Regions from separate parts of the Homo sapiens genome. Here all the other regions are linked to region 2. The links are contacts of gene promoters, found by promoter capture Hi-C in blood cells and fetal thymus (Javierre and others, 2016). All regions are on one chromosome and are shown on one strand. Each heading gives the region's core, a stretch centred on a gene start or on the middle of the fragment in contact. The rest is flanking DNA. Distances are from core to core; before and after follow the strand shown. Region 1 holds the start of TTC33 (tetratricopeptide repeat domain 33). Region 2 holds the start of NUP155 (nucleoporin 155). Region 3 overlaps SUB1 (SUB1 regulator of transcription). Region 4 overlaps ZFR (zinc finger RNA binding protein). Region 5 holds the start of TARS1-DT (TARS1 divergent transcript). Region 6 overlaps AMACR (alpha-methylacyl-CoA racemase).

Region 1 (4,494 bases), core at 1,015-3,514, 3.4 Mb before region 2:
GTGCAAATGTCAGCATTGTGCAAAGGGCAAATCACGTCTTCATATTAGTATGAAAATAATTTTGGCTTTGAAAGGGTGTCATTGACCCTCAGGACAATCGTTGGTCGACATCAGTGGTTCTCAACGGGGCAGGGTGGGAGGGATAGTTTTTCTTCCAGGGGAAATTTCACTGGGGAAACCATTGGCTGTCACAATCGACTGGTGGTGACATCCCGTGGACAGAGACCAGAGATGCTGCTAAGCACCCTACAATGCACAGAACACCCCGTCCCCCAACAAAGCATTATCCAGTTTGAAATGTTAATGGTGCTGAGGCTGAGAAAGTATGACTTCCAAAAATGAGTCTTTTGGGCAGGAGAGTTGGAGAAATTAACAATCTTGATTACCTTTATTACATGTGCTCGTTTATTTTCAAGACATGATGCACAGCTACGTTCTGGCTGTAATTCTGCCTTCTGGGTCCAACTCACTTGTAACTTTAACGTGAAGCCTGCAGTTCAGCCTCGAGCCTCCCTGACTAGCCTCCCCGCCCGGCCGCCTCGAGCCCTTTATAACCGAATTTTGCCTCTCTGTTCTCTGCGTCTGGCCGACCTCATCAGCTAGGCTATAAACCCCTTCGGGGAAGGAGCATATCCTAATCCTTTGAATCCCGTAAAATAAGTTTTCCCCTCACCTTGTTCCCCACTGACGGGACGCGAGGCTGCGCGGTACCGCGGGGGCGGCTCCTCTCGGTGCGCTCTTCAGCCCGCGCAGCCTCATTTTCCCGCGCTCGTGCGCTGCGGTCACTCAGGGCTGCTGCTAGAGGGCGCGCCCAGCCGCGTGGCCCTGACTACTACAAATCCCAGAAGGTCATGCAGTGGGGGCGGCCGCGGTGACTTCTGGGATTTGTGGTCCCGGAGAAGAGATTGGCGGAGGGGAAAGACTGAGTCGTCTTTCCTTTGCCCGCTTCTGTGGACTGTTCGAACGCCCAGGGGTGGGCCAAACCCGTTTCTTAGGAAACCAGGAATCCAGGGAAGGCAGGTAGGAATTTGGGCGTGATAATTTCTGCTTCCAGTGGGAAAGAATGTAAACACGGGGCCTTGGGAGCCGTTATCGGGTAACTGGGGCTGCCCGGTCGGCGGTGGAAGCTGAGGAAGAGGAGGAAAAAGAGGCGAGTGGGTGTTGTGATTAGGGGAGAAAGGACCTTCGGAATAGGAGTTGAAACCCGACGGGATCCGGCAGAGCCTGGTCGCTAGGGTTGGTCTCCAGGGACAAGCGAGTCTGAGGGTCGGGCCCGCCGTGGCACCTTCGCGGAGCTGCGCGGCCGCAACCTTCCCTGAGCGGTGGGACGGGCGGGACGAGCCGGCCGCTCCCCGCTGGAGAGGTGTCTGCGGCCCGGGGCGGTCCGTGAACGCGCAGGTGACGTCCGGGGCAGCCTTTCTGAGCGTTTTTATTATTGTTGACCGATGAAGGGAAAGTCACTAATACTGGTTTTTCTCTTGCGGTGGCGTTTTTGGGTAAATCGTTTCTTGGATTCCTCACCTCTGAATACCTCCTTTTACCCAGAAGGATGCTGTTGTGATTTCCTGATCTTGTTCATGTAGTGGTTTTTCCCTTTGGGTGCTGCATCCTCAGACACACTCAAGACAAGCCCTCTCTGGCGGCTGGGTAAATGTGAAGCCGTCGCCAGTTGTTGAGCGCCTACTATAGGGATCTTTGTAACAGTACAGGAATTTAGAATACAGCGTCGTTGTTTAGAATCGTTATGCCATTCCTGAAATATAATCCTATATAAAAGGTTGAATTTGTCTGGTTTCATGAGTTTAACATGAAACCGGTGTGGATTGTGGTTTACTCTCATGGTTTCTTACTCTGGTAAAAAAATGTTAAGTCTAGGATGTTGAAGCCTCGTGCTTCTAACTAGACTCAGGAAAGCCTCCTTCATAAGAAGTTTTAATTTCATGTTCAGATAGTCATAGAGGAACAATAAACTCGTTCGGCTTAAGATATCTGAAACAACTGGGAATGTTAAATTTTCTAATGCAGAAAGTGCTTTGCATGCTCTAGGATTCACATACCTTTTTAAGCCTGGCTAAGTTTTCTTCAAAGCTTAAGTCCTCCAGAAAGCCTCAAGTGTCTCTTCTCTGATGTCATGGCATCCTTTGTTTACTCTCTTGTAGCACATATCGTGTATGAAATTGACTGTACTCTGTGGTTTCCAGACACTTTTGAAGAAAATATAAAACTTTGCTAATGGCCTTGATAACAGATTCATGCTTTTACACAGTAGTGGGCCCTTGATACTACTGTTTGGTATCTCTATTTTTCCTTTGTTGCTTTTCCTTATCTCCACAGTGACTATTTTAGTCTTTTCCCTTTTTCTCAAGAACTCAGATCTGTTATTTTCCTTTTACTTTGAGCAGATGACTAGCCGCTGTTTGCTGGAGAAATGTGAAGCTTGGGGCATGAAATTCCTCATTTTCCTTTCCCTCCATCCCTGAACTTGCCTGTATGTTTCACTCAATATTAACTCCTTTTTTTGTCTGAGAGGACTGTATTTTTGTCTCCCTCTTTCAGGTTAAACTTGTCGATTGCTAGTGGCATCAGGCCTCCCACACCCTCATAACCTCAGTCTGTCCTGACCTCTGCAGCCCCTGATCTCTAGGTCTCAAGGGATCTGTGGAGGAGAATGGCTCAAACACCTGAGGCAATAGTGGCGTGGTTTTTTCACATATGGTTGAGAGCCACCACCTTGGGCCATAACTTATACTTGTCCCCAGCATTTATAACAGTGGTTTGGGTTGGAAGATGGGGAGGGTAATTGGAATCTGAATGACCTATTAATTTTAAAAGATGTGTGGGTCTGTTTCTCACTTTTTCCTTTCCTTCCCACCCTATCACAGCCCCTCATGTAATCTACAGATCTGATCAACGGTTTTTTTTTTTACTTTTTTTTCTTTTGATCAATGATTTTTATTGTAGTTTACCTCCAGTAAACACACTAGGTGTCCTTTAGTATGAGTAGGGTTCCCACAGTGCCTGGTGCCTCACCTTATGAATAAAGAAAGTTTCATTTGGAATCTTGAAACCGGAAAACGTGGTCATCATTCTTGTTACCATTAGGGATAATCATAAATACAAGACTTCTTTTTATCTTGTCTTACACTGATATCTTGTGAGTCTTTCCTAATGATCTGTATTTTCTCAGGTTGTCCTCACTGTGTGCCTTTTAACTTCTGTTCCATAGTATCCACACTTCTGTTTTCAGCCATCTTCCCCTACAATACTCATAGTCATCTTCAAACATGGGAAACTCATTCTCCTATAATATGATCGGCCTGGGGAGAGAGTTTGCATTGTCCTTATTCCCCAGCACAGTTTATAATCCATTAGTCCTCCAGGTTTTAAAAAAAATCTCAGTTCCTGTGGAAAGTTTGTGGTTCACTTATATTATCAGCCTGTATATTTCTTTCTTTCTTTCTTTCTTTCTTTTTTTTTTTGAGATGGAGTTTTGCTCGTGTCGCTCAGGCTGGAGTGCAATGGTGCAATCTCGGCTCACTGCAACTTCTACCTCCTAAGTTCAAGCGATTCTCCTGCCTTAGCCTCCCAAGTAGCTGGGATTACAGGCATGTGCCACCATGCCCAGGTACTTTTTGTATTTTTGTAGAGACGGGGTTTCACCATGTTGGCCAGGCTTGTCTTGAACTCCTGACCTCAGGTGATCCGCCTGCCTCTGCCTCCCAAAGTGCTGGGATTACAGGTGTGAGCCACCGCGCCCAGCCTGTATATTTCTTGATTGCTGTGATTTATTGGCACTCTCTCATATTCATTAAGAACTCAGACATACGACTCACAATTTTCTTACCCCTCCAAATTCTGCCATTACGGTAGGTCTTTCCATGTGAATGACCTCATAGCCACCCTCACTTTTTTTCTCACCTTCCTTCTAGTGATTACAGGGATCATTTTATTGTGCTTCACTTTATCACACTTCATAGATACTGCGTTTTTGCACATTGCAAGTGCTCAGTAACCCTGTGTCCAGCAAGTCTTTTCGTGCTATTTGTCCAATAGCATGTGTGCACTTAGTGTCTCTGTGCTACATTTTGGTAATTCTTGAAATATTTCAGATGTTTTAATTATTACTATATCTGTTATGGTGATCTGTAATCGATGATCTTTGGTGTTAACAATTGTAATCATTTTGGGTTGCCATGAACCATGCCCATATGAGATGGTGAACTTAATCAATAAATGTGTGTTTTGAATGCTGTACCACCAACTGGCTATTCCCATCTCTCTTCTTCTCCTTGGGTCTCCCTATTTCCTGAGACACAGCAATATTGAAATTAGGCCAGTTAATCCTACAATGCCCTCTAAGTGTCCAAGTGAAAGGAAGAGTTACACATCTCTCATTTTAAATCAAAAGCTAGAAATGATTTTAGGAAGACCTGTTGAAAGCCAATACAGGCTGAAAGCTAGGCCTCTTGCACCAAACAGCCAAGTGGTGAATGC
Region 2 (4,459 bases), core at 719-3,218:
TGCAGTGGCACGATCTCGACTCACTGCAACCTCTGCCTCCTAGGTTCAAGTGATTCTCCTGGCTCAGCCTCCTGAACAGTTGAGACTACAGGCGCACGCCACCACGCCCAGCTAATTTTTGTATTTTAGTATAGACGGGGTTTCACCATATTGGCCAGGCTGGTCTCCAACTCCTGAACTTGTGATCCACCTGCCTTGGCCTCCCAAAGTGCTGGGTGCTGGGATTACAGGTGTGAGCCACTGTGCTCGGCCTTGTTACTCTTTTAAATACAATGTTAAACATTTTAATTTTCAGTTTGAGTTATTCACAAATATTAATAGATGTAACCAACATGAAACAAAAACTCTCTGGAATCCTGAATAATTTTTAAGGGTATCAAGGGGGTCCTAAGACCAAAAAAATTCATAATTATCTGTTCTAGGGAAGAGGTCAGCAAACTTTTCCTGTAAAGTGCCAGAGTCCGTATTTAAGGCTTTGCAGTCTTTTGTAGAAATTACTCGGTTTAGCAGTTGTAGTGGGAAAGCATAGGCAATATGCCAATGAATTAAGTTAGTTAGATTACACTTTGGGGAGCTTTACTTCTATGCAGGAATATCACAGCAACGTTGTTGAATCTTCCAATTTATGGAGTTGAAAACTTTGTGTATTTTGTCTCAAATTAAAAACAAACTCGGTGCCAGACCACCACTTTTCAATCTATGGTCTACCAAATAAAGTAAACTCACAGCTAGAGACCCAACTGCCTATCTATATACCAATGATAAAAAATCCAGTTTTTCTTGGTATATTGGCTATGTCAAATTTTAAGTGTAGATTGGTAACATCAAAGAACTTTCAATTTTCAGAAATGTAGTCAAGTCTTTGAGGGAGTAAAAATGTAATTCAAATAGCAAAAGACCAATTTAGAGTAATTCAGTTATTGATTTGTGAAATTCTGAAGAACATAACTGGAAGCTTTCTTAGGTGAGATTCTAAATAAGAGCAGCTTTCTAAAAAGTGCTTTGATTTACCCACTCAGGTTGCCTTCTGTAGTAAATGAAGCCTCTTTTACCTCTCTGCTTTCTCCTATCCTGCTATAGTTTATACCTATCCAAATAGAAAAATTATAATGAAGCCCTTTGTCTCTGCTTGAAGCACCTTAAGGACAGGAAACACTGTGTTAGTTTGATAGTCCCAGCACCAGGCACAAGGCAAGTATTCAGTTTCTTAGGATTGTATGAACTCTTGGGTTCCTATCTCATACGAGTTCCTATACTAGCGCTGGGAATGGAAAGATGAATTAGAACTGTCTGCTATCTCTGCCACGATAAAAAGCACGGCAGCGGTCCACCTGCACTCAGCTTCTTCTTAAACACGTATTTTATACTAAGGGGCAACAAAGTCAAAAGACAGCGACACGCAAATGGAAAAGCCTGATGAATTCTAATTTACACTGAAGCCCGCGAAGAATATAGTGAGATACTGGTTTATATCCCTCTCTGTGACAGCGACCTACCAATTCTTAACTACTCTCACAAAAGCAGTTACTTGGAGAACCAAACTGCGCGCTCATGCGCGAACTCATATAGCTGCAGTTAGCGGATACCGACGCGGGAAGTTCCAAGACTCAGGTCGAGCACGCGCTTAAACCAACGGAACCTGACCAACCTCCTAGGCCAGACACACGACCTAGCTCCCACCTACCGTATCCCTCCTCCCTCCTTCCTCCTCACCCTATCCAACCCCATCCCGCCCCTCTCCTTCCCTGTTCCCTCCCCTTTATCCTTCCCTTCCTTTCCCTCCCTCCCTTCCCTAAATAACCTACCCTAATTTTACCCTGCCACACCCCAAAACCCTCAACCCCCTCGAAAGCATCAGCAGCCTCCTAGCTCCACCCACAACCTCTAGCCCCCTCCCAACAGCTTCCTCTTCCCAGGCCAGAACGGCGTCTTCCAGTTCCCCACCGGATGAAGCGGAAGTGCGTCATGTCGAGGCGCCAAGGCGCTCGTTTGGCGCGCGCGCCCTAGGCGGCGGATCTAAGCTAACTTCTTGGATCTTTTCTTGTTTCTCCTTGGTTTTTGACTTTTTCTGGACCCTGGTGTCTACGATTTCCGAGATGCCGTCTTCTTTGTTGGGCGCGGCGATGCCGGCCTCTACATCTGCCGCAGCCCTGCAGGAAGCTCTGGAAAATGCTGGACGGCTCATCGACCGTCAGTTGCAAGAGGACCGCATGTACCCGGACCTTTCCGAGCTGCTTATGGTGTCTGCCCCAAGTGAGTGATAGTGACCCTGCTTTCTCAACCTAAAGGACTCTCGCCTGACTTCCTAATTTGCTACTTATCCCCAGCGTTGGTCCCGGCGAGGATATGCTGAGATTTATGGCACTGTTGGCTGCATTTTTGGAGAACAGCAAGCAGCTTCTTTTCAGGTTTTTTCCTTTCCTCACTTTCTTCATTGTAGATACTTGAGAGGGCAAGAGTGAAGAGCAAGCTCCCAGTTGAAGCAGAAAGAGGCAAAGACCTCAACCTTAATGAGCTTCTCGCCGCTCTCAAGTGCTTATGGCTAAGGCCATATGAGAAGCATCTCCAGATCCAAGTCCCAAATTTGTTCATTTCTCCTGTTAGTGTTTGAGTAGATCGTAAGAGCAAACGAAGTTAATTTGGAAATTTAGCATGTTATCTTAAAGATACGCTTTGCTTTATATTTATTTGTTTATTTATTGAGACGGAGCGGTTCCCTCTTCGCCCAGGCTGAAGTGCAATGGCGCGATCTCGGCTCATTGCAACCTCCGCCTCCTGGGTTCAAGCGATTCTTCTGCCTCAGACTCCCAAGTAGCTGAGATTACAGGCGCCTGCCACCAAGCCCGGCTAATTTTTGTGTTTTTTAAGTAGAGACGGGGTTTCACCATATTGGCCTGGCTGGTCACGAACTCTGACCTCAAGTGATCCGCCCGCCTCGGCCTCCCAAAGTGCTGGGATTACAGGCGCAAGCCACTGCACCCGGCCAAGAAACGCTTTATTATGTGTAGAGATGTGTGTTATGAAATGCTGGAGGATCTTAAAAGAACTACCAGTGGAATAAAGAAAGAGAACAGGGAAATCACAGTGCTTATGTACAGGGAGAGTAAGGCAGAATATGTGTTGACAATATAGGTGACTGGAAAGTAATTTGTTTAACAGTTTTAAGTTATAACCAGCTCCCCACGGCTTATGGAATTACATCAGTTGCTAGAAAAAGTGACCCCTTTGTGAGATGGAATTTGGAGAAAACCAGCGAAGTGTAAGAAAGAAAAGATTGTTGGTGAGCAAGAACCAAAGTAATCTAAATAGGATAATTTGTGCAGTGTAAACCGAGAACACTTCTGATTATTTATAAAAATCATTGATAGCTTTGTAATCAAAGAAATGATAGAAACAAAGATAGTATTTGCTCCCTACAGCTACTTACCAATGAGCGTGTCTTATAATACCTGATTGGCCTATTAGCAATTATCATCTTGAACAACATTACTCATTTTGGCCTCCTTAGGTGTGAAAACAAGATATAAAAACAGTGCATGCATTCTGGTCCTTCTCTTACATATCTCATGCCTTTACACACACCTTCCTCTTTCACCCAGTCTCTTCCCCTTCTTTTCCATCCAATTTTTCATCCGTTGCTCTGATTACAGAGAATTTAGCATATTTTCCGTAAGAAGCCCCATCTTCAGGATTTCCTCAGGATTTTATCTTACTTTTATTGTTTCTGCAATGTTCTTTTTTTGCCTGACAAACTTTTTCCAGACTCCCTGTGAAAGTCCTTAGTTTCTCTTTGTTGTCTTTCTTTTTCTTGTTCTTTTTTTTTGAGTCAAGGTCTAGTTCTGTTACCAGGCTGGAGTGCAGTGGCATGATCACAGCTCATTGCAGCCTCTAACTCATGAGCTCAAGTGGTCCTCCCGCCTTGCCCTCCCCAGTAGCTGGGACTACAGGCGCCTGCCACCACACCCAGCTAATTTTTAATTTTTATGTAGAGACGTAGTCTCACTCTGTTACAAGGCTGGTCTCAAATTCCTGGCATCAAGCAGTCCTCCTACCTCAGCCTTCCAAAGTGCTGAGATTACAGATGTAAGTCACACTCCTGGCCTGAAGTCTTTCGTAGCATTCCCATCCTCACTAAAGTTATCGATTCCTCCCTCTGTGTTCCCACTGCCATTTAACATGGTGATCTGCCACCTTCGGCCTATTAAAGTTATGTTTTAGGATTAAATGGGATGTCTGGATTTGCTTTATTTATTTATTTTTTGAGACAGAGTCTTACTGTCACCCAGCCTGGAGTGCAGTTGGCATAATCTTGGCTCACTACGGCCTCCACCTCCCAGGTTCAAGCGATGCTCCTGCCTCAGCCTCCTGAGTAGCTGGGATCATAGGTGTTCGCCACTGGCTCATTTTTCTATTTTTAGTAGAGACAGGGTTTCACCGTGTTGGCCAGGTTGGTCTTGAT
Region 3 (4,835 bases), core at 573-3,072, 4.8 Mb after region 2:
AGCACTTTTGGAGGCTGAGGCAGTTGGATCACAAGGTCAGGAGTTCAAGACCAGCCTGGCCAAGATGGTGAAACCCCATCTCTACTAAAAATACAAAAATTAGCCAGGTCTGGTGGCGGATGCCTGTAATCCTAGCTACTCGGGAGGCTGAGGCAGAGAACTGCTTGAACTCAGGAGGCTGAGGTTGCAGTGAGCCGAGATGGCGCCACTGCACTCCAGCCTGGGTGACAGAGCATGACTCCATGTCAAAAAAAAAAAAAAAAAAAATAGCCAACTTTACCTGAAACATGTTATCATCTCTGCTGCTGCTGCTCTGTTTAGAAGATGACAGGGCTCTCGAAGTCTCACCTGTCTTTTGTTTCTTTACAGGTTTTTCTGGAGCAACTTGCTTTTTCCTCTTTAACTAGAAAAGAATATGGTTAAAATTTGCACACATAAAAATAAAACATACCCCAGTGTCAAAAGATCCCATTACTTTTTAAGATTTAAACAATCAAAAGACTACATCCAAAATATCATAAATATATACATAAGCAAGTTTCACTCAACAACAAAACTATGAATCTAACCAATCCTTCTGTCTAGTAATGTTTTCAAACTCTGTTCTCAGGATCCCAAAAGACACTTCAGGCATTATAGTAGTATTAACCACAGGAACGGTTATTTTGTGGTTTGGGATCCCACATACGATTTCTTTGGTAGAAAAAAAAATGGAGGGATCTTGCTACTTCTGAATAAACCTGGAAACCACAGTCTACTAAGGCTAGTCAGTTACTTATTTTACGAAGCAGATATACTAATTAAAAAGAATATAACCAACTTATTCCATTTCCAGGATATGTTTATTTATGTCCTGCCTATTCCAAAAGGAATTTATGCTGGCTTAAGGAATTTATGGGCCGGGCGCGGTAGCTCACACCTGTAATCCCAGCACTTTGGGAGTCCGAGGCGGGAGGATCACTTGAGGTCAGGAGTTCGAGACCAGCCTGGCCACATGGTGAAACCCCATCTCCACTAAAAATACAAAAAAAGTTAGCCAGGCGTGGTGGTGGGCACCTATAATCCCAGCTACTAGGGAGGCTGAGGCAGAGAACTGCTTGAATCCAGGAGGCTGAGGTTGCAGTGAGCCGAGATCGTGCCATTGCACTCCAGCCTGGGCAACAGAGCGATACTCCATCTCAAAAAAAAAAAAAAAAAAAAAAATTAGCCAGGCGTGGTGGCACACGCCTGTAATCCCAGCTACTCGGAAGGCTGAGGCAGGAGAATCGCTTGAACCCGGGACGCGAAGGTTGCAGTGAGCCGAGATCGCGCCATTACACTCCAGCCTGGGCAACAAAAGCAAAACTTCATCTCAAAATAAAAAATTAAAAAAAAAGGAATTTACAATTAGGCAAATCTTTAGAGAGCTATTTTGCACTGGGCACTGACAGCCAGCAACTCAAGAACTTCCTCATTACAAAAAAAAAAAAAATCATTGTAGACAGCTATGTGTTAGACTAGCTTTCAAAAATCACAACGTTGTTTTAAAAACAGCATTATTTTAAAAGCTTATTAGAAAGTCGCATTCTCAAAAAGAGCTAACCCATAAAAACCACTACAATACCCAACCCAAACAGAAGAGGGCAGTCATGTTCCTTCTTGATGGAATAGTATAAATATTTTAATGTTACTAAATTAATTGAATGTTACCAAATTAGATGAAGCTAGGAAAAATATTATATACATGTAAAACATGAAATGAAAAATGTGGTATACAAGGTTAAGTGTTTACAAGAGTAATATTACTATTTGGGACAAACAAAAAGTTAGCTCAATATGCAGAAAGCAATTATTCTATAAATCAGGCTCTAAGTATTCCCTGTGGAATAGTGCATGTCTGGCAAATAAAAGCTCAATACACATGTGTTACATCAACATACTCAAATACTATATAGGGTGCAAATTTTAAAATTAAGAAATTTACTCAAGTATAGTCTTTGAAGCCTTATTTTACCCTTCCATGTGTTGTTATATTCTATATTTATACTTTAAGGTTGCAACTTCTCCAATCTCCCATACGCTCTCCCCTTTTCTTTTAGCTAAAATTGCTAAGCTTCAGGAGGAAAAAAAAAAGATAGGGAGCCTGCTTCTTTTGAATAAACTTTCGGAAATCACAGGTCTACCAGTGCTAGTCATTACTTACTATTTTACAAAGGATATATACTAATTAGGAAAAACACGACCAACTTATTCTATTTCTAGGATATAAATATCTCTTCAGATATGTAAAGTTCTATGCGATAAAAGACAATTCTGCACGGAAGACTTGACCGCAGAGTGAGACGCTCAGTTATGCTCCACTGAGATGCTCAATTTAGCGAAATTCACCAATTACGGTGCAGCTGTCATCTAATGCAGAAAAAGCCTATCTTGTCAATGGGTTTCAAGTTAGCTTTACTGCGTGCTGATTTAATTAAATGGAAGGGACCAGAGCACAAACTTAGTACAAACTTAAAAATGTACCAAGTCTAAAATTCAGAAAACCTTATGTGCAGAATAAACACCAGTAACTAAGAGAACTGTCAAAATTAACATTTTATGGCCACTCATGATGGCTCACACCTGTAATCCCAGCACTTTGGGAGTCTGAGGCAGAAGAATTGCCTGAGGCCAGGAGTTTGAGACCAGCCTTAGCAACACAGCAATACCTGGTCCCTACAAAAACATTTTTTTTTTAATTAACCAGGCATGATGCCTGTAGTCCCAGCTACTCTGGAGGCAGAGGTGGGAGGACTGCTTGAGACCAGGAGGTCGAGGCTGCAGTGAGCCATGATGGTGCCACCACACTCCAGCCTCGGCAAGAGAGTAAGACCCTGTCTTTAAAAAAAAAAATTAACATTTTACAAAAAAAAATCTGGTAAATTTCTAAATAACGGCAAATAGTGACTTTGGCCTACTTAGAATTCTATGACCCTAGGATGCAAGGCAGTGTTTCTGCAACTTTAGGGTTCCTAATGATGCTCAACAGAAGACTTGTTAAGTCTGATTTAGGGCCTATGAGTATGAATGTGCAAAAAGCATCCTAGGCACTTCTAGTCAAGTGGTCCAGAGACCAACCGTACCTCCAGAAATACCCATTCACATTCTTATTTTTTATTTTTTATTTATTTATTTTTTTAAAGAGACAGGTTCTTGCTATGTTAGCCTGGTTGGTCTTGAACTCTTGGCCTCAAGCAATCCTGCCACCTCGGCCTCCCAAAGAAGTAGGATAACAGGCATGAGCCACCGCGCCCAGCTAGATCCTCATTTTAAGATGTTAATACACCTTTTACTATCCTTCAGAATGGGATATGGACAATATTGTTGAGTATCACCAAAATGACTTGGTGCAGCAGTAGTCACCTTTTTGTCAACCTCACTGTCAGAATCACTGCCAGAAGAGCTTGAAGAAACAAGTTCCTTTGATTTAGGCATCCTGAAAGAAAAATACATTACAAAAATAATTAATAAGGTACTCTACTACTTTCAACTTAGCTCTCCCCCAATCAAAGAAAAAAATCAAGGACAAGTTCCACGGTTCATTCTACCATTTTTGTGGTACTGAGTTGTTACACTGAGCACAAGTTTTAATCTATACCCTTTTAAGTTGCAAATAACACGCAGGGTGCAATGTGCTGAACCCAGTAAGAACAATGAACTAAATGTCATACACTCCTACACCTCTAACCTTTCTCCAGGCCAATGGATCTTTCTATACTTCGTTTTAATGGCATTACACACTATGGGTAGGGTAAACTGCAAGAAGGCAGCAGACAACAATTACTATTAAAACCAGAAGAAATGTAATTCTACTATTACTGCTTTAGACTTCTCATCAACGAGATTGGAACTAACGTAAAATTATTCACTATGGGGAACTGACCCCAACATTTACACAACAGGGAACTAGCTGTACTATGCAAATGTGACATCTAATTAATTTTTACATAATATTTTATTCATATTTTGACTTTTTGGCCGTATCACCAAAATAACGACAGGTACTAATTCAAGAGTACACAAAATTATACGCAATTCAGGCCGGGAACGATGGTTCACGCCTGTAATCCCAAAACTTTAGGAGGCCAAAGCAGGCGGATCACCTGAGGTCAGGAGTTCGAGACCAGCCTGGCCAACATGGTGAAACCCTATCTCCACTAAAAATACAAAAATTAACAGGGCACGGTGGCACACCTGTAGTCCCAGCAATTCGGGAGACTGAGGCAGGAGAATCGCTTCAACACCGGAGGCAGAGGTTGCAGTGACACAAGGTCACATCATTGCACTCCGGCCTGGGCAACAAAGCAAGACTCCATCTCAAAAAAAAAAAAAAATCTTACACAATTCACAGCAATTCATTACATTTTACACAGATTTTTCTACTCTGGAACATAATTAAAATTTGAAGAACCTATTTATGGGAGGTGCAAAACCTATTTATGGGAGGTGCAAAACCTTCCCGCAAATTCCTACCATGCTGGTAACTTCCCAGGTCCCCCCAGAGACATAGATAACTTAGTGCCTTGCTTACAAGTGGGTGTTTACTGAGTGCCTGAGTGCAAGTTTGCAGAAAGCAAACTATCAGTAAGCCTAAGCCCCAAATTTCAAGGAATTCCAAGATACGTGGATACCTCTATTCAAGGCACTTATAACACCAGGTCATAAAACGCTGATTATCAAAATATCTTTTGCTCTCCCCATCTCAGAAGAGATTAGGTCCTATTAACCCATTTATGCCAGAGGTTGCAATTTTTTGAATTTATGCAAGCAGACCTTGGCGATGATCTTGAGCAGTAGCACATAAATAACTCCCACAT
Region 4 (4,298 bases), core at 1,611-4,110, 4.9 Mb after region 2:
TTTAAATAAATCTTGCGGAGAGAACTATTATGACAGTTCTAAGGACTTTAGGATAGCAAAGAATATGAGGAAAGGTAATTCTCAGTAGAAAAAACTTCCTAATAGTTTCATAGGATCAAAAATCATTTTTTTTAACTTCTTCATTGTCAAAGATAGAGAAGTTCTGATAGGAATTCTTCAGTTTTTGAGGAGAATTCGTGGCATATACATTTATAAAAGCATATGTAATAAACGTTATAAAATAATCCCATTATATCCCACAATTAATGAGACATAACCATTTCTTTGAGGCTTTTTTTTTTTTTTTTTTTTTTTTAAAGACATGGTCTCGCTCTCTCACCCAGGCTGCAGTGTAGTGGTGATCATAGCTCACTGCAGCCTTGAACCCCTGAGCTCAAGTGATCCTCCTGCAATGGGCTTCCAAGGTGCTGGGATTACAGGTGTGAGCCACTACGCCCAGCCTCATTGAGAGTTGTAAACAGCCACTTTTTCTTTATTTATACTTTAGAAAAACCTTGGACATAGCAGTAAGTGGATTTTGACTATTGCTGTACCTTAAGCATCTGCCAGTCAAAAGAAGGCATCTCATCTAATGATTTTGAGATGTCTTAGGGACTTCCGTTCCTAAAGGATGAGATAACTCGGGTAGGGTAACAGTAGCTTGGATAGGCTGATAAGCTAATGAGTTTTCCTTTTTTCCTTTCTCTTTTTTACTTTTTATTTGAAAGTAGTGTTAAGAATATTGTGTCTTGAATTCAGGAAAGAATAAAAGTAACACTAGTAAGGTAGAAAAGGATTAAACACTGAGAAAGTAAAAAAACCAGGTGAACAGGTTTTTGAAACCAACCTTGGTGATGGAAATTTACTGGCTTTACAAGAAAAAGAAATATTGCAACGACTAATAACATCAATCCTTCCATTGTTGAATCAGAGACCTTAGGATGTACACTGCATGGATAAGCTTGAAATAAGATAATTTTCATTCCAAAAGGATTGTTGCTATTACACTGATGATAAAATGGCTATTAGTCTTAATAGAGTAGGGTGAGCCAGAATATCCCTGTATAGAATAGGTATCTGCTTGAGTATGCTTTTGTAAACTGCCTTATAGTACACTATGAACAAAAGGACATAACTTTGGAACTATATAGAGTTTGAATCCCAGCTCCATCCCTTCAGGCACCCTGGCCAAGTATCAGCTTCTCTAAGACTTGGTTTCCTCACCTGACTTGCCTTGAGGTGAAGTTTAAATATAAAATTTTCTAGCCTAGTGCCTGATTATCAATAGGCATTCCTATCAATGCTGTTTCCTGTAGAGATTTAAGTAATAATATTATAAGGGTTTTAGAAGGATTCCTTGGTTAATATCTATCATATATTTATATAGAGAGTTTCATAATCTCACAGTAAAATGTTTTAAAACATTTGGAGTCCTCATTACTAATAGAGAAAGAAGGAAAGTTTCTATTTACAGGTAACATGATTGTTATGCTTGTCAGGCAAGAATATGAGAAGTAATAAGAGTACAGCAAGTTTTCTGGATCTATGATCAGGCAAAGGCCGGGAGCGGTGGCTCATGCCTGTAATCCCTGCACTTTGGGAGGCCGAGGTGGGCAGATCACTTGAGGTTGGGAATTCGAGACCAGCCTGACCAACATGGAGAAACCCCGTCTCTACTAAAACTACAAAATTAGCCAGGCGTGGTGGTGCATGCCTGTAATCCCAGCTACTCGGGAGGCTGAGGCAGGAGAATAGCTTGAATCCAGGAGGTGGAGGTTGCGGTGAGCCAAGATCGCGCCATTGCACTCCAGCCTGGGCGACAAGAGTGAAACTCCGTCTCAAAAAAAAAAAAAAAAAAAAAAAAAAATTTTCAGATAAAATCAGTAGCATTCTTGTTTCATCAATATTGAATTAGATTATTAAATTTCAAATAAGTCCTGTTTATGTATAGCCACCAAATCTATTAAGTAAGCAGGAATAAAACAAATGAAGTATTCAAAACACTTTGAAGAGAAAATACAATAGGATAAAAAAGTCATAAAAGATGACAAAGATGGACTGTGTTCATGAGTGAAAAACCAATGCCATCAAATTATTATCTCCTATATATATTTAGCATTACTCCAATAAAAATCTCATAGGATTTTTGGTATAACTTGATAAAGGGATTTTAATGTATATAGTGAGGAGAGTGTTCAGCTAAAAATATCATGAAAGTCTTGCAGAAATGATAAGGAAGGACTTGTAATATCAGATACCAAAATATTATTAATAGAAAAATGTGGTATTGGTACAGGGATAGACAGATTATTGAGTTAAAATAGAGATCCCAGAGATAGACATGCTTATATAAGCAGTTGGATTAGAGTATATATCTAATATATGTCTGTTTAAATAGATGTATTTGTTAAAAAAAAAATCAGCTACATTTTTACTCAGAGACATAGATCATCAGGTTAATCAGAAGACCATTCAGGCTTATAAATGTTGTAATTGATGAAGTATGTTAGTATTATTTGGATGGATCTTTAGTCTACTTATTAAAGGTTGCTTGACTATTAATTGTCCATGACACCACTCTGTCAGAATACAGGATTAGAGTGATTGTTCTGAGTATATCATTTCTTAGTATTTCATGAAAGCCATGTACAGTACAGCTTTTATTCATACAGAGATAAAATGAATGAAATAAACTTTGGGTTTTTTTTTGTTTTATTTGAATATTAGTCTTGTATACACTTTATATTAAAGTGCATTTGTAGGGAATAATTCACTTATTTAATATTTTATGAGCATCTACAATATGCATAGTCCCTGCTTTCAGGGAGTTTACACTTCTGGGGCATGAGGGTGGAGACAGATGAGTCTACAAATAACTATGCCATTATAATTAAGTTTTAATGAAATACTAAAATGGGAAATTGGAGGATTTTGACTATGGAGTTTGAGGTAGACTTCGTGTTCTTTCATTCTGAAAATCAAGGGAAGGTCATTTTAGACAAAGGAAAAGTATTGAGCCAAGACAAATATCTGGATTGCATGATATAATAGAGACTGGGTTGGCTCTGAAGTCAGACTACCTAAGCTGAATCTGGCTCCTCCTATTACCTGCCATGTGACCTTGGGCAAACAGTCTGTTGTTAGTTTTTTTATCTATAAATTGAAGATAATATTTTCTTTGCCTCATAGGAAAACTGCACATGTAAGAGAAAATGAAATGTCATAAACCGAGTGTACCTGTGTAACTTGCACTTAAATTAAAAACAAAAACAGAACATTATCAGTATCCCAGGAGGTTTTTACATTCTCCATTGTGTTGTTTCGAGGATTCACTATTATTTGTAAGGTGGACCTGGCAGTGACTCACACCTGTAACCCTAGCACTTTGGTAGGCCTAGGCTGGAGGATTTTAATCCCAGGATTTTGAGACTAGCGTGAACAGCAAAGTGAGACTCTGTATTATTAATAAAATGAAGAAAAGAAAACATTATTTGTGAAGTGTTCAGAACAGTATCTGGCATATATTATATCTCTATCAATGTTAGCCATTATTCAGTAGGTGGCTGGTGAATATGGATGAAACTAGAGAAAGTACAGTGCCTGGCATATATCAAGCATTCAGTAGACATGTTTTAAATTATTTATAGAAAAATAAAGAATACAACTATGGGGCCAGGCACGGTGGCTCACGCCTGTATTACCAGCACTTTGGGAGGCTGAGGCGGGCAGATCACAAGGTCAGGAGATCGAGACCATCCTGGCTAACACGGTGAAACCACGTGTCTACTAAAAATAAAAAAAAAAATCAGCCGGGCGTGGTGGTGGGCGCCTGTAGTCCCAGCTACTCGGGAGGCCGAGGCAGGAGAATGGTGTGAACCCAGGAGGCGGAGCTTGCAGTGAGCCGAGATCGCGCCACTGCACTCCAGCCTGGGCGACAGAGCGAGACTCCATCTCAAAAAAAAAAAAAAAAAAAAAAAAAAGAATACAACTGTGGTTACCAACTTTAAGGTAGGACCAGGGAAAGAAAGAAATACTGTGTGAACAGAGAGCCAGGAGAATTTAGGGTCATGAAAACCAAAAGATGATAGCAAGGTCGTCAGCTTTAGAGTTGCTGGATTAGGGATTTAGTACAGTTATCAAGTTACTGGTGTAATTTTAATGAGTAGCCTTTATAAGGAAACTAGAATCTGATCACTTGGAGCTACAGAAAAAAATAGCATAAAATTTTGCTTAAAATAAGTTTGTAGTCTAGTGTTCACATAGATACTTAAGAGCTCCAGAGGTCACATGGGCTTAAA
Region 5 (4,563 bases), core at 1,349-3,848, 3.9 Mb after region 2:
CTTGCCCATTTGTATCATTAAGTAATAGAGCTGGGAAATTACAACAGGTCTCTCTGGAACCCTGAGGCCTATGACCCCTTTTCTACAACACTGGGAAGAGAGTAGGCAACTGTTCTCTATTTCCCTGAGTATATATGGTATGTACATCTACATACAAGTAATCTAAAATCTCAACCCAAAAGTTGGGAAACAGAACCGGATTGTGAAGAGAAGCTACAGAATTACCTTTCTCAGGAATGATCTGTCCCTGACTCACTCAGAACAGCACAGGGGTTATTAGTATTGGCTATAGGATACTGGGTTTGAGGAAGGAAAAAAACGGGGATACTGGGTTTGAGCAAGTTACTGTTCCTACGCCTGCTTTCTCATCTGTATAATGGAGATAATAACAGAACCCACTTCACAGCGTTATTAAGAAGACTGAATGAGGCCGGGCGCGGTGGATCACGCCTGTAATCCAAGAACTTTGGGAGGCCGAGACGGGCGGATCACGAGGTCAGGAGATCGAGACCATCCTGGCTAACACGGTGAAACCCCGTCTCTACTAAAAATACAAAAAATTAGCCAGGCCTGGTGGCTGAGGCAGGAGAATGGCATGAACCCGGGAGGTGGAGCTTGCAGTGAGCCGAGATCGCACCACGGCACTCCAGCCTGAGTGACAGAGCGAGACTCCGTCTCAAAAAAAAGAAGACTGAATGAGTTAATTCATGGAATGCATTAATACAGTGCCAAACTCGTATTTAGTACTCAAAATAAATATTAACTATTGTATAATTATTACAGGAAGGAAAAATTACATATGTGTTAACCATACATATCACGTCCAATTAAGAATAGCACAGGAGAATATTTATGGACATGGAAAGTTGTTGACCACATTCTATTAAGCAAAAAAAAAAAAAAAAAAAAAAGTTACAAAACAGTAAAAATATCATTTTATGTGAAAAAAATCTACGTATAGTCACCATTTATCATCTAGAATTAAATTTACATAGTTAGAATGTGCCCGTATGCAGTTTCTCCATTCAATCTCGAGTGGACAATCAAGAAAAAAATTTGGCTTTTAAGTGAACTGTCCTGTCACAGACTTGGGATAGAGGATCCCTTAGCTGAAGACGTCACCACTTCTCACTTGGACTATTACAACAGCCTTCTGCATGTGGCCTAACCTTCTATCCCAATGCCAGCGTGACTTTTACAAATACAATCTTCCTGCTTAAGATCCTTCATGTATAGAATACAAGTTTCAAACATCCTTGTTGCCTAAGATCCTTCTGATTACTGTTCCTTTAACCCTTCTGGCATATCTCTTGCAAACAACCCGAAAGACAATTCACCTGCGTGCCCCTTTTCACTGCCTTCCCTACCTTTACGTGGGAAGCCCCGTCCTGCCTGTTTACCTGGTGAAATCATTCTTCCAAACTAAATTCTAAAGTGCCTTCCTAAACTTCCTCTTCTGTAATACCACAAGGTTGATCACAAAGCACTAGGGCTGTTTTCCTGTCTCTTACACATCAGCCTGTGAGGCCCTCAAAGTCGGGGAACTGGGCCCTATTCATCTTCCCACATGCACCGCCCAGATCAGTGCCGGGCAAAATGTATACTTAACCACCCAAACTTGGACAAGCTGGGTCAGATCTCGGGCACTCGGTTTTCCTTTCCTTAAAATGGAGCTCTTTACCCCCGCAGGATCTTAGGAGATTGATTAAATAAGGCTCTGCAATGTGTTTCCCGCTTACAGTAAGCCATAAACGCAAGTTTGGAAGCCTCAAGCCTAAGATTCTGATTCTGTCTCCGCGTCTAACTACTGTAGATGTGAGGCTCTGAACAAGTCGCTCACTCAAGGTCTGTTTCCTCATCTGTAAAGAGAATGGACCCACAGATGAACTGCAAGGCCCCACCCTAATTTATGAATGGATGGTTCCCAAAGGGGGTTCCGACTTTCCAGGAGTCCCACCATCCCCCACTTCTCCGACCCACGCGGTCCCGGCCGCTTCCTGCTTCCTGCCCCCCGCTCCCGCCGCGAGCGTAGCGTCTGCACCCACTAGAGTCCCAGGCTGGTCTCTGGGTCCCACCAAGTTTGCTCACCGGCTTCTCCTCGCCTCCCATCTTCCCTGAAGGACTGCTGGCCTTCTCCTCAAACATTGGCGAACGACGAAGCGATGAGAGAACCCGAAAGCGACGGCCTAGAGGAGAGGAGCCAAGAGGCGGGTGGGAGGTGGGCTAGCGCCCGGGACTTGGCCTCGGCTGGACCAGCTGATGCAATCGAAAGGCGCCCTAACCCCGCCCCCAACTTGCGGCGGAACGAGCAGCCAATGGATAACGGGGGAAGGCGGGCCCTCCCTCCTCTAAGCCAGTGGAAAATCTTTTCGGGTGACAGAGCCCTTCTAGGAAATCAGGTCGCGGAGGGTGAGGAGGAGCAACTGCAGAAGCTACATGCCTACTCTCCGCTGACCTTGGTCTGGACGCTTTCCAGAGTCAAGTCCCCAATGCGCGTGCGCCTTTCCTCCCTTCTGACTTTATGTGGAACAATCATGGACCTTCCCGGACACCGTAGATAATAAGTAGGTCTTGGTCTAAACTTCCGGGAAGTTTTCGGCGACCTGGATACCATCTTCGACACGGGGACAAATCCCGGGATGGAGTCCAGGGTTTCCCGCGGCTTCGGCGCTTCCTGACCTGGCGTGACTGCCGACTTGTCGGCACCACCCAGGCCTCAGGCTCCCTGTCTGTAGTGGTGAATCGACCTTCCTCATGGCAGTCCAGGCTTCCCAAGCCCCATGTCCTGTTGATCCGGGACAAACTCTTCCTTGAACGTTCTTCACTACGAGCCGCTGCTGATCTGTACTGCCTGGAGGAGCATTTCCATAGCGCCCGCAAAAATACAATAAAGCTCACCCAAGGAAATAACCATGGATTCTCACGCCTGGGTGCCAGTGTTTGGAATCGACTGGGCTTTTTTATGTTAGTAGGCAATTTAAAACAATTACTTATTTGAAATCAGAAGCGCAATAGGCATAACTTCAGGTACGTGCTCCACCACCACGTTTTGTGGATTTTTCTTTTTAAACATCAGTTCTGTTCTCTACAACTCTCCGCCTTCAGGGTTATACTTTCCAGGAACAATAGCTTCCCAATTCGGCTTTGTGCATCCATTTTTCATACAGCATCGTTGTAGTCTTCAAATACAAATATGATCACGGCAATCTGCTGAAAAATCTTTGGTGGCTTTCCCTTGCTCTTGGACAATCCCTGATTGTCCAAGTTTTCGGCTTCATCTCGTTCGCCCACCATACACTGAACTATAAACTGTAGTGGCTTTTTTTCCTCAGGTCTTCCCACAGACTAAGTACCAAGATTTTTCCACCCTACCCTCATCCGTGCTCATTCCGACACACTTTTTGCCTGTTTGACACCTCATTTATTGTCAGATTTCAAGAATCGTTTTCTTCGGGGAACCATTTCTTGACTCCCTTACTGGATGAAACAAGCCTCCCTGTTAAACAGTGTTGGAGGCGCAGAAACATACCCCCAAATAATGGCGTTTTGACATCTGAACTGAAGAAGCCTCAAGGTCCCACTCCCCTAAATCCCCACGCCATCTCTGCCAAAGCAAAGGATAAAGTTTAGACACATCACAAGGAACATAATTGTTTTTGTTGCCTCCCTGTAAGACCAAGAATGTAGTAATCACACCTGAGCAGACCCTTTCACAAGATGTTGTACAAATTAATGTGTTCCTGATACATTCATTCTCCTTTGTAATCCCTCAACAGAATTCCTCTTCTCCCTATCATAACCTGTGTCGCTGGGATTGTATCCACAAGCTTCTGAAGCCCTCTGAGGGGTGGGTAATCACGCTGTGATTCTTCCTGTGTATACACGTTAAGTAAATTTGTATGTTTTTTCTATTAATGTTCCTCATGTTAGTGATTTTCAGCCAAACCTCAGAGGGCCAAGGAGAAAGGTCCCCTTGGCGCTTACAATAGTGTCTGCTGGTAGTTTCATGTGGTTCTTGGTAGAACTTACCGGTTCAACTTGTTCTTTCACTATGTGTGTATTTAGAGCTAAGCAAGTTTACTATATATGTGTATATATATATATATATACACACACACACACATATACACATACGTATATGTATATACATATATTATATATATATATATGCACAGTAATGGTTCTGATCAGTTGGCCTAAGAGTACACCCTATGTGGGGCTTCACGTACTGCTACACTCACAGGCAGAATTGGGGGTTGTTTTTCTGTCCAGAGTGATTGATCCTGATTACAAGGGGACAAGCGGGTTTCTTCTACATAAAGGAGAATTTTGTCAAGAACCCAGGAGATTCACTGAGACCTTTTTTAGTACTTCCTTGTCTAATGTTTCGCTGTTGGAAAACTCTGGGAACCCAACAAAGACAAGGAAGGAAGGAAGGTTTGGGCTATCCTTCTAGGTAAAGAATCTAGTCTAGCGAGGTCCTGACAAAGGCTAAGGGTAACTTGAAAAGGTGCTAGGAGAACAGAGTTATGCAATATTAGCTACCTAATTTGCAGATTACAT
Region 6 (4,471 bases), core at 1,421-3,920, 3.4 Mb after region 2:
CATAATGAGCTGTGACCTAACTGGATGTGTAAACAGACTGTAACCTGCTTTTGTAACAAGCAGCAAGTCTCAGCCAATCACAGCAGCCGTACTTCAACTAATCACAGGCGGCCAGCTGTTCAAACCATGTTCAAACAAGGCAAAGGCCCACTTGTAACCAATCCGGCTGTTTCTGTACCTCACTTCTGTTTTCTGTACATCATTTTCCGTCCATAAGTCCTCTTTGGCCCCAGGGCTACACTAGTCGCTCTGAACCTAGTCTGGTTCCACAGACTGCCCAATTCATGAGTCATTCGTTGCTCAGTTAAACTCTTAAATTAATTCGTCTAAAGTTTTTCTTTTAACAGTATCAAAGGTTGGTGGCAAATTGAGGCTGCGGTTTCCCTGTGTCAGGGGGCTCTTCACTCGCATGCATGGTATATGAGTGATGGGGCAAGAGAAGCCGTGTGCCAGGGTAGCCACTGCCAGGCCTTATGATGAGACGAGGAGGGTTCCTGCTGTATTTCTTGTCCTGTACCTCCTCTGATGCTAAGGATTAGACCAGAGCTTGTTTTTGTCCTGAGTGGACCCAACTGGATCTGTAACTCTGTTAACACGTCTATTTTTCAGCAGTCTCATCAGGGCGTTCAACATATAAAAGAGATTAAAGGGGTATTTTATTAGCATAAAACATTTTATGTTTACATATTCAATATTTATATATTATTTTGTCAGACCAACGAAGCTGTTCTGCTAAACACAAACACTGGAAGTTAGAGTTTATGGGTGATTGTCTCATCGCTTTCAGTATTCAGTTTATTACTGTATTTCATTTTGACTGGATGTTAGGAAAATCCTGAGTTACAGAGATAAGTTAAAAATATCCATAGTTTTTACGCAAAAATTAGCTGGGTGTGGTAGGCACCTGTAATCCCGCTACTCGGGAATCTGAGGCAGGAGAATCGCTTGAACCTTGGAGGTGGAGGTTACGGTGAGCTGAGATTGTGCCACTGCACTCCAACCTGGGCAACAGAGTGACACTCCATTTCAAAAAAAAAAAGACCCTATATTTTTAAAAACTTGCTTAAAATTTCAGATTGCATTTCATTTATGATGAAGCAGAACAAAAATACTTTGTTTCTAGGTCGACTCACTACAGTGTGTAAAAACTTCTCACATTCTTTGGCCTGAACATGAAAGCCAGATAAACAGTATTCAGAACTCTCTGCTAAAACTCTCTCTTGCACTGTATGACAAGCTTGCTTCCAGTTCATCTATTACCGCCCTATTGATTCGGCGTTAGGCTCTGAGAGAAGTAAAGCTTGAGCGGAAAGCAGGCACTTGCTTATTGAAGGTGCTAACTTGTTGGTTTTGTATGAGTCAGCACAAATTAAGAGGAGAGGAGAACCATGCAGAACAAAGGTTTTCCTCAATAGTGTTTCAAATACAAGGTAATATTTATGCAAAATTGGAAGGAAAAGCTTTATTTTAAAGTCTAGCAACAAATGTTAATGAGTTGAGGCTCTGATGAGTCAGAATTTGGTATAGGATACATTTAAATATGTGCTTAAATAACATAAACATAAAATATATTTAAAATAGTGCGCATATACATGCATATGTGTATATATGTGTGTGTGTGTATGTGTATAAATGTGGAACTCTAATATCTCTGTAATCCAGCCTCAAAAAAAGGCACTGCCGTAGGCCACTTGCATGAACTCAGCTATTTGGTGACAATAAATGTCACAGCCATAAATTCAGATGTGCGTGAAATTTCAAGTTAAGAGGGAAAATTGGATATATCCAAAGATACATTTTGTGGTTGTTCCACAGTCAGTAACTGAGAAATTGCTAGCAGTTGGAATGAGGCCTGCTCTATTGGTAGCTTTTGAGACGAGGATGCTTTGAAGGCCTTCCTCCTGGGGTGCTGGAGACATTAGGCTCATAAAAGGCATAAAGGTCAGAACATCATCTTCTTCAAATAGTCCAGTGCCTTCAGCCTTTGAGTTTGAGCCTTGTGATAATTGTACTTTATTGTGTAATTACTTCAGGACTCAGTGGGAAGGTGGCGTGATGAGATGACTTTAGGACTCAGTGGGAAGGTGGCATTCCCAAACCAGTTTGCCTGGACTCAGAAAATGCACATACCTGCCATCCATATTGTTAGTTTATTTTATAACTTTCTAGTGATTATGAAATACATTAAATACTCAAATACAGTTTTCTTGGGATTGGAATCAAGCCAGAATAAGCCAAATTTTACTCTTATGTGATTTACCTTTAAAATGTGGTATGGTTTATACATCTGTGTGTGTTTATAGGTATGGAGATCAGAAGATGGATTTTTAAAAGCTCTTTTAATTTTTAACTTTTTATCTTGGCAGTTTTTAACATTATAAAAAGTAGAGAGAATAGTATAGTGACCTTCCATGTACCCTCACCTAGCTAAATCACTAGCATTTTGCCAATCTTATTTGAAATGGAAAGCAAAGGTCATTTCTTCTAAGTCTTATAGTATTTTTGGAACTGAATAGTGCAGCCAATTGTTATTTTAACACAAACTGCTCTAACTCACTTTCTGGAAATACCAGAGAAGTTGTGTAATTAGGTAGAATCTTCGTATACTCTAAGATAAGAATTTTTACGCAAATTTTTTTTAACTTGAATGGGAGGAATTATTCATGCTTTGACACTTGAGTTATCTGGATTTGTCTTGTATTCTGTTTTCTCAAAGGTGGAAGGAACAGCATATTTAAGTTCTTTTCTGTGGAAAACTCAGAAATTGAGTCTGTGGGAAGCACCTCGAGGACAGAACATGTTGGATGGTGGAGCACCTTTCTATACGACTTACAGGACAGCAGATGGGGAATTCATGGCTGTTGGAGCAATAGAACCCCAGTTCTACGAGCTGCTGATCAAAGGTAAGTGAACTTCACGCGTCTCCCCCAGTTCCCCTTTTGCTGTGGATGTTCTTTGGTTCTATTTTAAAGACTTTTGGCATCTAGGATGTCTTTTATTATATAGCCACTTTCTAATTAACCTAATTATAGCCATCAATATAATGTGGGGCATTTTCCATGGCTTTTAAATTGACCAGCAGTCTTACTAGTCTATAAAATAGCTGAGGGTTTTAAAAATAATAATCCCTTTTGTAGGATGTTCGGTGCTTTTATTACAGTTCACTCCTTGTGTTGGATAATCTTGACCCTGTGTGCCCAGATCTTACTCTTCCCTAGAAATGATCTCACATGGGTTGCTTTCCATTCAATATTCTACCAGCTCCTATTTCTTGGTAGATGTCCCTTATGGCACTTCAATGTCAGAAGTCACCAGAGCATGGAAAGATTTTGCCAAATGAGATTCTGTTAGAATATGTTACTATATCACTATGCCTTTGCAGATGACCTGTCTTGCAGATTCTTGCCTGCTTGGCAAGTTGTCATAAATTAGCAAGAAAATTTGGGATCTCTTCTTCCCTAATTAAATAATTGGATGGGAGTCGTTTTGTTCCTGAGAAATGTTTGAATTTAGAGTTCACTCTATAAATAATGTAGAATCTAAGAAGTTTTAGAATATACTCTGAAGTGATGTGAAAGCTGATCACAGTGCATTTACCTTTCTACTACAAGTTTAGAGTTTCATTGTTACGTTTGGTAGCTTTTCAGATGCATATACTAAAAGTTATTTGCATATAGCTGGAATGACTTTTTTTAAATTTTCCAAATTTTTGATGTGTTCTTATCTGATGGAGTAATTGTTTTTGCAAGCATCTGAGAGCATTTTATGATTAAACATATTAACTTCACCTATTCAAATATAGTTGGAAAAACTATAGAAGAACACAATGGTTTATCTAGATCATAAAGGGTACCTCTCTGTCCAGAAATTAAAAAGCTTGCCTTTTGTCACTGCTCCAAATAAATTGGAAGCTCTGGCTGCTCATGATGCTCTGGTGGAGCTCTGTGGAGCCATGAACACTGCCACCTGCAGTCTGATGAAGATAGCAAATGATATTCATTTTCTGAGTTCTGGTCCTTGGCCAGGTCTGGGAGAACTGATCTTGCTGAAAATACAACAGGAAGCAGTATCGTGCCAGGCAAGGCAAACCCTCGTCAGTGTGAAGCAATGGCCATCGTTGCAGCCCAAGTCATGGGGTTTTGTGTGGCAGTAACCGTTGGAGGCGGCAATGGCCATTTTGAGTTGGATGTTTTCAAGCCAATGATGATTAAAAATTTATGTTACACTCAGGCTGCTGGGGGATGCTTCAGTTTCCTTCACAGAAAACTAAATAGTGGGAATCCGGACCAATAAAGAAAGGATCAAGAAGCTAATGAATTAGTCGCTAATGCTGGTGACAGCTCTCAACCCTCATATAGGGTATGACAAAACAGCAGAATTGCTAAGACAACACCCCAAAATGGATCAACCTTAAAGGAAACTGCCGTTGAACTTGGCTCTCTCACAGCAGAGCAGTTTGATGAATGGGTAA

What was found. The method cuts DNA at HindIII sites, captures the fragments that hold promoters and counts their contacts. A CHiCAGO score of 5 or more calls a contact.
Region 1: a fragment that was not itself captured here is called in contact with the fragment with the promoter of NUP155 in region 2 in 2 of 17 cell types (non-activated CD4 T cells and total CD4 T cells); the score reaches 6.6 in non-activated CD4 T cells.
Region 3: a fragment that was not itself captured here is called in contact with the fragment with the promoter of NUP155 in region 2 in 1 of 17 cell types (non-activated CD4 T cells); the score reaches 8.1 in non-activated CD4 T cells.
Region 4: a fragment that was not itself captured here is called in contact with the fragment with the promoter of NUP155 in region 2 in 2 of 17 cell types (total B cells and naive CD8 T cells); the score reaches 8.1 in total B cells.
Region 5: a contact is called between the fragment with the promoter of TARS1-DT here and the fragment with the promoter of NUP155 in region 2, in 1 of 17 cell types (monocytes). The highest score is 6.4, in monocytes.
Region 6: a fragment that was not itself captured here is called in contact with the fragment with the promoter of NUP155 in region 2 in 1 of 17 cell types (activated CD4 T cells); the score reaches 5.2 in activated CD4 T cells.

The regions. Positions count from the first base shown.
Region 1 is chr5:40,752,350-40,756,843 of GRCh38, reverse strand. It overlaps TTC33 (tetratricopeptide repeat domain 33), which reads left to right and starts at 883. Exons shown (of 5, transcript NM_012382.3): 1 at 883-1,020. RefSeq lists an enhancer at 860-1,009. The HindIII fragment of the contact is 348 bases long and covers 2,091-2,438 here.
Region 2 is chr5:37,368,615-37,373,073 of GRCh38, reverse strand. It overlaps NUP155 (nucleoporin 155), which reads left to right and starts at 1,968. Exons shown (of 35, transcript NM_153485.3): 1 at 1,968-2,253. The coding sequence starts at 2,097. RefSeq lists enhancers at 1,976-2,065, 2,186-2,295. The HindIII fragment of the contact is 10,669 bases long and covers 958-4,459 here.
Region 3 is chr5:32,587,131-32,591,965 of GRCh38, reverse strand. SUB1 (SUB1 regulator of transcription) reads right to left here. Exons shown (of 5, transcript NM_006713.4): 2 at 3,382-3,454; 3 at 281-403. The coding sequence starts at 3,453. Among named protein-coding and RNA genes, the nearest start is that of SUB1, 4.0 kb to the right of the region's middle. The HindIII fragment of the contact is 545 bases long and covers 1,550-2,094 here.
Region 4 is chr5:32,435,823-32,440,120 of GRCh38, reverse strand. All of the region lies in intron 2 of ZFR (zinc finger RNA binding protein), which reads left to right. Among named protein-coding and RNA genes, the nearest start is that of ZFR, 6.8 kb to the left of the region's middle. The HindIII fragment of the contact is 3,794 bases long and covers 964-4,298 here.
Region 5 is chr5:33,438,669-33,443,231 of GRCh38, reverse strand. TARS1-DT (TARS1 divergent transcript) reads left to right here and starts at 2,598. Exons shown (of 3, transcript XR_001742630.2): 1 at 2,598-3,027. It overlaps TARS1 (threonyl-tRNA synthetase 1), which reads right to left and starts at 2,267. Exons shown (of 19, transcript NM_152295.5): 1 at 2,089-2,267. The coding sequence starts at 2,145. RefSeq lists enhancers at 1,159-1,745, 1,760-1,819, 2,080-2,269, 2,370-2,679, 2,334-2,921. The HindIII fragment of the contact is 5,282 bases long and covers 1-3,829 here.
Region 6 is chr5:33,997,073-34,001,543 of GRCh38, reverse strand. AMACR (alpha-methylacyl-CoA racemase) reads left to right here. Exons shown (of 5, transcript NM_014324.6): 4 at 2,717-2,903. It overlaps C1QTNF3-AMACR (C1QTNF3-AMACR readthrough (NMD candidate)), which reads left to right. Exons shown (of 9, transcript NR_037951.1): 8 at 2,717-2,903. Among named protein-coding and RNA genes, the nearest start is that of AMACR, 8.7 kb to the left of the region's middle. The HindIII fragment of the contact is 2,416 bases long and covers 1,463-3,878 here.